Regions from separate parts of the Homo sapiens genome. Here region 2 is linked to region 1. The links are contacts of gene promoters, found by promoter capture Hi-C in blood cells and fetal thymus (Javierre and others, 2016). All regions are on one chromosome and are shown on one strand. Each heading gives the region's core, a stretch centred on a gene start or on the middle of the fragment in contact. The rest is flanking DNA. Distances are from core to core; before and after follow the strand shown.

Region 1 (6,319 bases), core at 2,187-4,686:
AGAGGTGGATCACTTGAGGTCAGGAGTTTGAAACTAGCCTGGCCAACTTGGTGAAACCCCGTTTCTAATAAAAATACAAAAATTAGCTGAGTGTGGTGGCACATGCCTGTAATCCCAGCTGTTCAGGAGGCTGAGGCACCTGGACCTGTGTTTATGTTATATCAAGGATTTTCAGGACAGAGCAGAGATAAATGCCTGAGTTCAACACACCATGTTGAATAATTCACTGGTCTCATGCCAAACATACAGACTTTCCTGAACTTTTTTGCCTTTCCAAGTGAGAATCTTTGGGAGTTAATCTGGGAGTCTATTTTTGAAAAGATCCTCAGGTGATTCTGATAATATCACACATATAAATTCATTATTACAGCACTGTTACACAGGCACACACATTTTTCAGTTAACTCTGAAGCCATAATGAACCAGGGATAAGGGGATGAGGAAAAGGACAGGTCAATTCTGAGAAAAGGCCGGGCACGGTGGCTTATGCCTGTAATCCCAGAACTTTGGGAGCCCGAGAGAGGTGGATCACTTGAAGTCAGGAGTTCGAAACCAGCCTGGCCAACTTGGTGAAACTTTGTCTCTAATAAAAATACAAAAATTAGCTGAGCGTGGTGGCACATGCCTGTAATCCCTGGAGGCCGAGGCAGGAGAACAGCCTGAACCTGGAAGGCGGAGGTTGCAGTGAGCTGAGATCACACCACTGCACTCCAGCCTGGGTAACAGTGAGACTCTGTTTTAAAAAAGAAATGAAAAAAAAAATCTGAGAAAAGGATGGCTTAAAAAGGGACAGGCCTTTAGTGATCCAGGGGCATTTTGGAGAAGGCATGTCTTGATTACGAATGTTGGTGGATTTCTTAATGGAGAGCAGGTCAGGGAAGCAGGAGAACCAATATTAATTAGAGTACTAGGATGGCCACCCGCTGGCTGGGAAAGATGGTTGGGAGATGGTGTTAATACATTTGACATCTAGTTTGAAGACAGAATGGATGTTTTCTTCCTTCAAGTCTACTTCATTTTCTTTTCTTCCCTCCCCCTCCAACTACTCTGCTATTTTCCTAACACAGATTCAAAAAATAAAGGAAATGATTAAGCCATTTTGAAAATTTGAAATTTGGAAAGCCAAAACAGTCCTAAAGAAAATTTCACACAAATGTGACCTCTAGGAACAGTATTCATTCAAGAGAACAATTTTCAAAAAGAAAAAAATATATATCCACTGAAAACAAACACTGCAGCATGTATAGAATAAGGATAGATATGGTTTCCATATTGCATACCTCATCATGATCTCTATTTTAGGAGCAGTATGTGTGTATGGTTAGTTATGAATTGTGGATAGGTATGAATTGTGGATTAGAAAGCAGAGAGTCACAAATCAAAGGAGTTGGCAGAAAAGAGACACAGATGAAGAAAAGGAGGGAGGGGTAAGTATTGGAACTACTGAACTAAGATGGCACACAACCAAGATTCCTCTTGCAGTCTATACTTTTAAACAGGAAAAAAGGGAGGTGGAGAGATGGGGTGAGGCATGGATGGTGCTAATCAAAAAAAGTAAAAAACTTTTCAATCATTTTTTATTACCCACCTAGGTTTGATGTCCACATTATTATTTTCATTGTCCAGTAAGTAATGCTATTAGAACAGACAAAGTTTGGTATTTGAGAACATGGAATATATACTAAGGTGACACACAGTGTTTATTAAATGTGTTGCAATGCAATGTGATAATTCCAACAGAGGAAAAAAATGTGAAACTGGATTTGCTATATATTTTTGTATGCTTCAAAAATGCAGCATAGATTTTTGCCACATTCATTTACTTCAAGTATATTCTTTCACAACTGCATTTCCTAGCACAATGACTGGCATATGGTAGACAGCTTTTAAGGTTTTGGAATGAATAGGTGAGAACTCAGAGAACAATTGTAGATATGGAAAGATTCTTGCTGATTTTTCTAGATTTGGGTTCCTTAACACAAACACACATGTTGTGTATCAAACAGCTCTATTTCTACCATATCTTTATTGAAAGCTACTTTCTGCAAATATGTAATAACGTATTCACCAACCACATCTTTCTACATTTTGATTCCCTTTGTATAAATGGAGAAATTCTAAGGTTCTTGGGAAAGGTATTCAGTCATGAAGCAGTCTCCAAAGTTGTATTTTGGCCTTACCTAACCAAATTTTCATTCATTTCATTCTTATTGACATTACATATACTATAACATTTGATGTTCACAGAAAATTAACTTCTATTTTAAGAAGTTTACTCACAGAACCACAGTTTGTGCATTTAACAATCACTATGAAATACATATGAAACATTAACCATCATTTTAGAGAACAATTTAAAAACTCCGAAGTAACTACTTTCCTTAACTTTGTCATCCCAACATTCTGGGTATAGGCATTGTTGGAAAAATATAATTAAAAACCAAAATCTCCCAACCCAGAAATCCTCTCCACAAACGTTAGTAGACAAAACACTTTTATTACTGAATAAGCATTAAACGAGACTGTGATACACATCACAGGCAATTTGCTAAGAGATTGCAAAGACAGAAATCTTGCCCTTTTGTATAGCCAAGTATATACGACCCATTACATACACGTTTTCAAGTTGAACAATAACTAGTCCTCAAGTAAGAGGACCTGACATTTGTGACATTAACTTTACTTAATAATTGGGGTGACCATCTGTGTTAGTTAATTGGTTTTATCCAGAGGAAAAACAAACTTCTCCTGTCTTTATGACGGAAGGTAGTTTTGCAACACGGAGCAAGTTGCTCACCGAAGTTACGCTCCTACTCTCTCACAGAAACTGGGAGATAGGGAAGGATGCTACTCCGTTGATATGTGCAGCATTTCAAAAAAAAAAAAAAAAAAAAGGTCCAGAGACATTCCTGACTGAGCATACAGTTGACAAGACCTATCTAGTCCTCAAGTGGATTTATACACATTTCAAAGAGTTGAGAAAGTACTTAACAATTAAGAAAGTACTTAAGTTTTCTAAGACAAATGCTCGGAGAGAAAGGGACGGGAAATCTCATCCTCCATTTTCAATAGGGAGAATTAAGCCTCTTATTTAAAATTTTTATGTTGGTTTTTGTTTATTTAGCTTTAAAACAGTAGACTTAAAAAAAGTCCAACTTAAGATTTATGTTTTTTTATGTGTAGGGCTGTTCTCTACGGTTAAATAAATAACCCTGCTTAGAGAAAATATTCACCACTCTTCTTTGGCTCCTATGTAACTCAGTTTTTGAGAGGGAGGGGAAATACCGGATTGACGCTATGTGGTTCAACCAATGCAAAAGATAACACCGCCTTAAAAAGTCTACTACAGGAACATGGGAGGGTCACACCCTCGAATAATGACGCATACCTATCCTACTGTTACTGATCACCTAGTAATAATCTTGTAGTTCACATTACTCATTTTTCACCAAATTCTTTTGGTGAAGGACGCTTCAGAAACGGCCATCACTGAAGAGCAGACCCGTTTGGGTTCTCCACGCATTCTAGACTCCCGAAGAGGTAAGAATTTATTATAGGGGGCCACTCCCAGGACCTGCTGTATGCTTTTAAACATCCATTACAATTCCAGCATTGAGTTTCTAACATTTTTAGGCAGGCTCAGGCACTGGGAGTACAGGATTGAAAGACAGTTCCCGTCCTTAAGGGACTCAGAGTAAACTGGAGTTGCTGAAAACCATTCTAAAGCAATCCACGTTAATAACAGATACAAGTAAAACGTGGGAACGTACAGGAAAAAGTGACCAATTCTGAGGCTGAAAAGTGCCTATTTTAGGGGTGGGGGCCTCGCGGCCCTAAAGCAGCTTCCCTTCCCGGAGATTTCAGCTCCAGGGATCGCCCAGCGCCCTCCGGGCACACTTAACATTTTAATCACGCCTCCGCCCCCACTCTCCGAATTCCTTTCCGGCTGCCGACCCGCCGAGTAGTCCCTTCCAGGCGGCCTCAGCTTATCATCGCCGGTCCGGCCACTTCCCGGCCGCGGCCAGGCGAGCCTCCCAAAGTTTCCTGTGAGGCCTTCGTCCGTCTCCGGCCCCATCTCACCACGGCAGCCCAGGACACCCGCTAGGGAGGAGCAGGTTACCGAGGCGGGGAGAGCGGCACAAACGCGCAGACCTCGGGACTCCACCCGGGCTGGTGAGCGAGCCCAGAAAGCGGCGACCGCAGCTCCGCGTCTCCACTCCCAGGGCCCGCAGCTTGGGCTAAGCGTGCGCCCACCCAGCCTAGGGCCCAAGTCCTGCCCCTTCGGGGACCGGGCCAATCGGCCGCTCCCCGCCTCCTGGGAGGTAGTGGAGGAGGGGGCTGAGGGCCGGGCGGCTGCGCCCGCCTTCCGCTCTTGCCCATTGGCTGAGGCCTCGAGGGTGCCCGGAGACCGGAGTGCAGCGGGATTGGTTGCAGAGGTTCGTGACAGTGGCGCCTATTGGCTGTGGCAGCCCCCGTGACGCGGGGTGGTGACTGGCTCCGGAGTCTGAGGGGTTCGGGCTTGTCAGGTTCTAGGTAGGTGCGTTTCGCGCCGCCGGCGGTAGGCGCTGTTGCCCGGGGCAACGCGGGGGGAGGGGGGAAGAGGAGGGAAGGCAAGCCTAGAGCGGGGGCAACAATGCCTGCCCGCAGAGGGGCGCCCGGGATTCGGCCAGGGCGTTGGGGGCTGTGCCGAGGCTCTTCCTCCGCCCTCAGCCAGCGCCCCCCCCAACCCCCGTCCCTGGCTGCAGGGTCATCCGCTCATCCTCCCGCCCGCAGCAGAGCATTCCTGGTTGGGGCTTGGGCCGGGCTACACACCCAGCCCCACGAGGGCCGCCCCTCCCACCATCCCGGGACCCGAAGGCTGAGGGGGCGGGTGCCGGCGCGAAAGGGCTGTGGCGGGCGTAGTGGCTCCGCCCCGTCGCGGGGTCTGGGGGCTGATGGGCGTGAGGCGGGGTGGTGGGGGGACTGTGGGCACCACCCAATCTTGCCTGTACCCTCACCCCTTTTCTCGGCGGCACTCATCTGGGCGCCGCCGTCCCGCTACGGGGGCATTCTCAACCCCTGGTATTCCCCCCATCCCTTCCTGCTTCTGGAGCCCCGCAGTCTCCCTTGACCCGCTCGGTCCTCCCCAGCTCTCCTCCTATCTGTCACCTTCTCCCGCTTTTATCCCCCACCTCATCTTTCTCCTCCGGTCTTGGCCAGAGGTGTCCTCCAAGAGTCTAATCAAGAGATAGATCTTAAGTGTGAAGCTAGTGGTGTCGTCGGTAATTTCTGCTCTGTGGTCTCTTTGCCAGTTAGAATTGGGGAGATGTTTGGAGGCACCTTCAGGGGTCATCCTTCTGCCTTACAGTTACCCCTAGGATCTACTTTCTGAATACGCTCATTGGGTTGTGTTGGTAGGGGCAAGGTACTTCTTAAACAAATTGAGGATTGTACTATGAGGTGGGCACTTTGTACGTTTGCGATTTTGCCATCCACTGTAGTGCAATTCAAAATCTAATAATTTGTTACGGCTGGTAGCCTTACATTTTTTTCCTTCGCCTTATGGTTAAAAAAAGAGCAGCTTTTTAACCTTTTTAATTCAGAAGTTGCGTATATTAATGGTTGTCTCACTATCACTTTGACATAAACTGCTGTAAAGGTGTACTCCATTTTCCTTTTCTCCAGATATGTTAAGATAATAAATTTCTCAGATGAGGTTACCATATATAAAAGTGTAGTGGAACATCAATAAGAGAATAGATCAAAACTATTTTAGTGATTAAAGATTAGAAAATACTTTTCAATTCATATGTGGAATGAGAATAGGATAAAAAAAAAAAACTATTGCAAAATCTTTAGTGCAGTATTTGTAGTCCTGGTATATATACCTGTGTTGCCCTTAAGAAGACATTTGTGAGTAGCTCCAGGTTTGTCAGTCGGGAAAGCAGAGTGTATCTTTTTGTAGTCCAGGAAAGCTTTTCTGCTAGTACTTTTGAGCCAAGAGAATTATGCTTCCAAAGATGCTGGGAATATATTAAGAGAGTACATAGGCATACTTCTGTTTTCATCTTTGAAAGACCTTTAGTGAAGATCTGTTTCTCTTCTGCATTGATTGTTGACAGCATTAAATATACATAATCTAAAACTATGTAGTGTCAAGTTGTTGCAGCTTCTGCACTGCTTCAAAGGTTGATGTCTTTAGTTCAGAAGAAATAATTCAAGCTTTGGTAGACAAATCATTTACATTTCATCTTCGATGTAGATGTTACTGTAACTCTGGACCGTGAACATTTCAAATTTGCCAGTTTTTTCTCAACTATTTTACTATGAAAAATTTCAA
Region 2 (6,319 bases), core at 1,879-4,378, 2.0 Mb after region 1:
GTAAGCAAGAAGAGGTAACATGTCCAATGTCACGGGGTTGGACAGTCTAGGTAATAAAAGAAGTGTCTTATGTTTGGAATATTGGGTATGTATGAAATTGAATATCAGGAAAAGAAGCTGAGGTGCTACATTAAAATACGATTGTGCCTTTTTAAGTTTATTCTCTATGGGTTTGGAATGTGTTTCTTTTTTTAATATATAGATGTTCTGATCAAGATATATTCAAATGGCAGTATAAAATAAATGGAGTTGTATAGACAGATTTATGGAGATCTATTGTAATAATCTAGGCGAGGCTGAGAAGGTTCTGAACTGTGGAACAGAACAGAAAGGGATGAGCTGGCTAGACATTTCTGAAGTATAGTCGATGGTCATTATGTTAGCTTGGTAATTGGAGATAGGAGAGAATGAGTTGTCAGTAGTGACTGAGATTTCTAGATTGGAAAATGTTAACCAAGATGGAGAATTCAAGAAGAAGAAAAAGTTGGAGTAGGGAAGAAGATAAAGAATTTATCTTTCAATAAATGAAGTTTGAGATTCTTGCAAGACATTGAGGGAGAGGGACATGTCTCATATTTGGTTGGAACCATGGATCAGAGTAAAAAAAAAAAAATAGAAAATTGAAGCACAGGGAGAGCTTTGGGTATTGTGGCATAAAAGTAGCAGCTGAAGCTTAGGATAGATGAAATCACCTAAGGAGAAAGCATAGATTAAATGAATAAAATGGACCAAGGACAGAATCCTAGGCATACATGTGTGCCGTGTGTGTGTGGGAGCGGTGGGAAGGGGGGTAGTTGGGGGAGATAATGAGAGAAATTAGAGAGGGCCTCAGACAAATTGGAAATAGCATAAGATGTAGGACAATCATGTTCTAGAAACCAAAAATGGGAGAATTAGAAGTGTAGATACATTTGAGAGAGAGGGTAGAGAAATTAGGGAAATTTGCTTTTGGGTCTCTCTTTTCTCTGTGAAGCAGGATACAGGGTTATTTGGTGAAAAAATGATAAGCATTGGGGTTGTAGTAGAAAAGCATGAGAGGAATGATACACATTTGGGACAGTCACAATGATGGGTAACAAAGGAATCTTACAAAGAGTATATGAAAGGAATGTTAATAGGTAATATTGGAAATTAGAAATTTTTAAGGTGCTATTTGGCATTACTCTGATTTTCTATATCAGCACTATATTTTTGTATATCATCCTATCGATAATGTTAAAGGCTTTGGAATGGTTTGTTAATCCAAATTTATTCTCTGGCAAGGTGAATTTTTTGCATTGTTAAAGAAGTGAGATAGTTGAAGGCATAGCTACTAGTGTAACGCATATGCCCAATGTTGGGATTTAGTCCTTACAGGGAAGGAAATGAAAGCAAGAGAAACTGATAGTAAGCTTTTTTCCAATGTGATTGCTTTTGAAGGACCTCGTAGTCTTGAAGTGCCTTAAATAAACTTTGCTAAAACGTTTGAAACAAAACAAAGATTAGAAAGGTCAGCAACATTTGGGCAGCTCAGAGTTTCTTGTTTTATTCTTTAAAAATCTGTATTTCGTTGTTTGGCTAACTATTCACTTTATTGCTTTTATATCACTAGATAAGATCCCAAGTTAGTACTTATAGTCAAATATTCTTGAAATTCTTTAACAAACAATTCTGTAAAAAAATAACAAAATGCAGGAAATTCCATTTGGTAGAGTGAAAAAAATTCAATGCAGTTGTTCCTCATATCTGTAGGGGATTGATTCCAGGACCCCCAGTGGATACCAAAATCCAGAGATGCTTAAGTCCCTTTTATAAAATGGTGTTGTATTTGCATACAACCTGTACATAACCTCCTGTATACTTTAAATCATTTCTTGATTCCTTGTAATACCAAATACAATGTAAATGCTATGTAAATAGTTGTTATTCTATATTGTTTAGGGAATAATGACAAGAAAGAAAAAAACTCTGTACACATTCAGTACAGATGCAACTATCCCTTTTTTAAATAAATATTGTAAATCCGTAGTTGCCTGAATCCATGTATGTGGAACCCATGGATATGGAGGGTTGACTATATTTGCAACCAGAACACTATTGGTTCAGGTCCTGGCTATTCCACTTTTTATTTCTGGGACCTTATGCAAGTAATGTTGCCTCTCTAAAGCAGAGATGAAGGAATAACATTAATTTCAGGCTACAGGGAAGAAAAAAGAAAAATAGGAATGGGAAGGCATAGGACTTTATAAAATTTTATCATCTAACTTTCTTACTCAGTAGACAGACATGTCAACTGAGTGGGAATATATTTTCATCATTTTGAATCTTTCCAAAGAAGACAAAATAGTAACCTCTATTGCATTGTTCTACTTGGATAATTTTGGTGATAAGGCCCACTCATTAATTCATTCATTTACTTGGCTAACATTTCCTGAGTACTTACTATGTGCCAGGTTCTGTGCTAAAAACCGGGTTTACAGTGAGGAAAATAAACAAAAGGTAACTGTTGCCAGGAAGCTCAGAATCTAATAAAAGTACATTCACTAAGAACAATAATTCCATTAATGAATAATTGCAAATTGAAATTTGTTTTCTGAAGCAAAAGAATATAGTTCCATGAAAGTATTAAAGGGCTAGAAACAGTGTCCCTAGTAACATGACACTTAAGGTAGATCAGAGTGGTAATTAGGAGGTACATACCAGTTTGTACAAAAATGCTGTTGCAGTGGGGAGCCTAGAGAATTCAGGTGTAACTGAGAGAAGCCTCACATGGCTGGAGCTCTGGCCAAGGGTAAGGGTACAGAGCAGGTGGGAGCCAGAACATGTGTGGCCCTGTAGGCCATTTTAAGAATATTGAAGAGGTTCAGTAAGGTCAGTGACATCAGATTTGTTTTCAAAGGGTCATTGTAACTGTAGATGAAAAGGTTGTATGAGGACCAAAGTGAATAAAAGGAGACATCTTAGTATTCTATTACAATAATAAAGGTAAGAAAAGATAGTGGCTAAGATCAGGGTGGTATCTTTTGAGATAGAGGTAAGTGGACAGTTTTGAAATATACTTAGGTCAAACTGAGGGAATTTGGTGATGCTTTAGGAATGGTAGATCAAAGAGAAGGCAGTATGAAGAATGACTTCTTGTATTTGGGCTTGTGTAACTAGTTGTCAAATGAAGCTGTTTTTTTGAAGTATAGTGTGAATATCTTTTAAAAAATTATTTATTCTTCTTTGGGCAGATTTGACCTTTCCTATTAATGGGAAGAAGGCAGAGTTTGTTTCTGTATCCTATTAATGGGAAGAAGGAGCAAACAAGGTCACAAAACATTAACAGCAGTTCACAGAAGCTACTACATGAGGAGGATGAGCTCTGAGGTCTCCTAGCCTGGGGTTTTTTAATTGCGTAACATTTACTAGGTAGAACAGGGGAGATAGTACAGATTTGCCAATATTTAGGGGTTTTTAAATACAGTTTATGATCAAATCAAAGAGAAAAACAGCAGATCTCTAGTGTTCATTAAGTCAGCAAATTTATAATTTCTCAGTAGTATTACTTTTTAACAAATTATATATTAGCCAGGATCGTCATGTGTGATCTCTTTAGCAGTAGATACTGCTAAACCCTTCCCTGTTCTCTCTCCCAGTTGCAGTGAGTTAAACCATGTGTCGTTCTACCCCCACAGTACCCTTTACTTAATTTACATGTGGCTTTTTTCAGACTGTTAACGCGAGGTAGGAGTTCCTGTAACCAAGGCTACCTGTGTGGTTCAGTCTCTCACAAAACCCATTTGGTTCAACTCCAACTTAGTTTTGACTCATCACACATCTGTGGTTATACCACTGTAAACATCTTGTAGTTTTCCTCCAACGGTTCCCTCCGAATTTGCTTATTTTAAACACACGTTATTTTAAACACAATGAAATCTTCCTCAAATTCAATAGATTTCCTTTCTGATTAATAGTTCCTGAGTAGGGAACACTGAAAGAGTTTAAGTAGAAAAGAAAGATTTTAAGTTGGACTTTAGTACAAGTGCATTTTCAGATCTTTTATCATATCCAGATGGAGTTGTCTGTAGGCACATGATATGGGGCTGGCATATAAAGAATTCTTAACTGAAGGTAAATTAATTTGGGAGATTTTGAAGCTCTAACCCTAGATATGAGCGTCGCTAGGGAAGAAGGATACACTATGGTAGAAGAATAGAGTCTGAACCTTAGGAACTCCAACCAAGGGGTGGCTGGGTTAAGAAAGGTGGTCTTGAAAAGGAGTCAGGAGAGACCAGAAGGCAGGATAAAAACCAACAGAATGGGCTAGTGGAGCACAGGGGCAAAGAGTGCTTCAAGGAGAGAAGAGGCTCTGATGGCTGCTGAAATGTCAAATAAGGTAGAGACTTAAAAATGTCCATCAGATTTAATGACATGCAGATTATTGGAGACTTTGGTAAGAGCTGTTTTTGTTCAAAACCAATTTGAAGTGGGTTCAGAGGTGAGTGGGAAAGTACAGACGTGGAAACAGAAAGTTTAGATGGTTGGCTCTGACTAGGATTGATGAAGAGAGGTAACTGGAAGATGAGGGGTTTAGAGTAGGTTGGGGTAAGTTTTTTTTTTTTTTTTTTAATTAGGATAGCTATTTGACCATTTGAAAATTAAAGACTGCTGAGACAGAGTTATTTTAGAATTTTATTGCCTTTTTTGTGTTGATTATGCATAGGAGTATGTGTTTTGATTTGTTAAATGAAAAACTAGACTGTTTTGAGAAAAGCAAGGTACTCGAATAAATTTTATTAATTTTTTCGTTCATTAGGGAGGGCATTTTTTGCTTGGAAATAGATAATTTAGATATATTTACATGTTTGGTATTTGATAATGAATTATAAAAAGGTTTAGTGACTGAAGCTTTTAAGTATGCTTATTTAAATTTCTAGAGCTGTAACAGTAAATTTTACCCATTTTATAAAGTAGTAGAGAACAGATACAAAGAAGAGTCCCAAAAGCATTTTTTTAAATACTTGGTTTTAAGTCTCCTTTTATCTTAATGATCTTAAGAATTGGCAGTAGTCATCAAAGGGGAGGTAACTCAGAATTGACATTGTATTTAAAGGGGAGGCTACCCAGTCCTAAGTGTTTACCACAGTTTCATACTTAAAATTGGTGTCGTCATAAACTGTGGTAATACTTTGTGAGGCCATGAGTATTAGCTGTGCCAAGATGATTTACAAAGCATGTAACGTATTTTGTTTTATAATCATAAAGTAACTTTCAGTAAGATGGGAGGCCTAATCTATTTTTTATATTTTTCGACTTAATCATTGAATAATATGATTTCAGCTACATTGTGTTGTTCAGGCCAAATAAATATCCTAATAGTAATTTAATCAGAGTTCGGCCCAGAAGGTGCTCTAAGGTCTTAGAAATCGGGGGTAGTTGCTCTATTGTCTGAAAGTCTCTGATGTATGTATATGCTGTTGTTTTTCAAATTCAGTCATGTGAAATAGAAAATGTTTATCTAGATTCCTGCTGTAGCCATAGCCATGATGGAATGAGTACCCATTCCATCAGAGAAACTGTTGGTAGCAAGTCTTATCTTTATTTTGCACTTCCCTTTCTGTTTTTTTTTTCTCTTTTTCTTTTCATTTTTCTTCTATCTCCCCTGCCTTTTCATTTTTTTCTTCTTATTTACTTTCTTTTTTTTTCTTTTCTTTTTTTTTTACCCTCTATAATCTTGACTCTTTTTGGACTTTTCTCTTGATAGAACTTACTCCCTTTTTTCACCTTTGGTTCTATTTCATTTCAGCTTGCCTCCCTCCCTCCCTTCCTTCTTTCTTTCTTTTTTTTTTCTTCCTTCCTTTTTTTTCTTTCTTTTCTTGTTTTCCAAAGGTAACCAAACTAGCAGACAGAATGCACAAAATCCTACACCTTGGTTCCAGACCTGGCATTTTTGCCTGTTTCCTTTGAACATTTTCCTGTGATCTTTTTGACCCTGATTTTTCTCATCAGTAAGACAAGTGTGACAATATCTGCTCTGCTTATCTCACAAGGTTCTTCTTTGTATCAAATAAGATGAGAGGCAGTACAGGCAGAGAGTACCGGGGTTTAGAACAGAGTTCCACACTAACTGGTTACTTGGCTTTGGATGAGTTATTAATCCCCTCTGATCCTATCTCCTCATCTATGAAATGGAGAAAATAGGGTTATTATGAAGATTAGAAATAGTTCATGCAAAGCACTTTGCATAGTCATGGCATTTAGTAGGTGCTCACAAAGATAATAGAATATAATGGTCACAAAATTATGTAATTGTACTAAGTAAAGATAATTCAGAAATTAGGTACTACATAAATGTAAT

The links. Contacts are between HindIII fragments. The CHiCAGO score rates a contact against its expected background, and 5 or more counts as called.
Region 2: a contact is called between a fragment that was not itself captured here and the fragment with the promoter of FER in region 1, in 1 of 17 cell types (naive CD8 T cells). The highest score is 5.5, in naive CD8 T cells.

The regions. Positions count from the first base shown.
Region 1 is chr5:108,744,461-108,750,779 of GRCh38, forward strand. It overlaps FER (FER tyrosine kinase), which reads left to right and starts at 3,437. Exons shown (of 20, transcript NM_005246.4): 1 at 3,437-3,540. RefSeq lists silencers at 4,204-4,303, 4,384-4,443, 4,574-4,983. The HindIII fragment of the contact is 11,506 bases long and covers 1-5,952 here.
Region 2 is chr5:110,748,731-110,755,049 of GRCh38, forward strand. The region is part of intron 5 of SLC25A46 (solute carrier family 25 member 46); the gene reads left to right. Among named protein-coding and RNA genes, the nearest start is that of SLC25A46, 13 kb to the left of the region's middle. RefSeq lists an enhancer at 3,825-4,084. The HindIII fragment of the contact is 3,478 bases long and covers 1,390-4,867 here.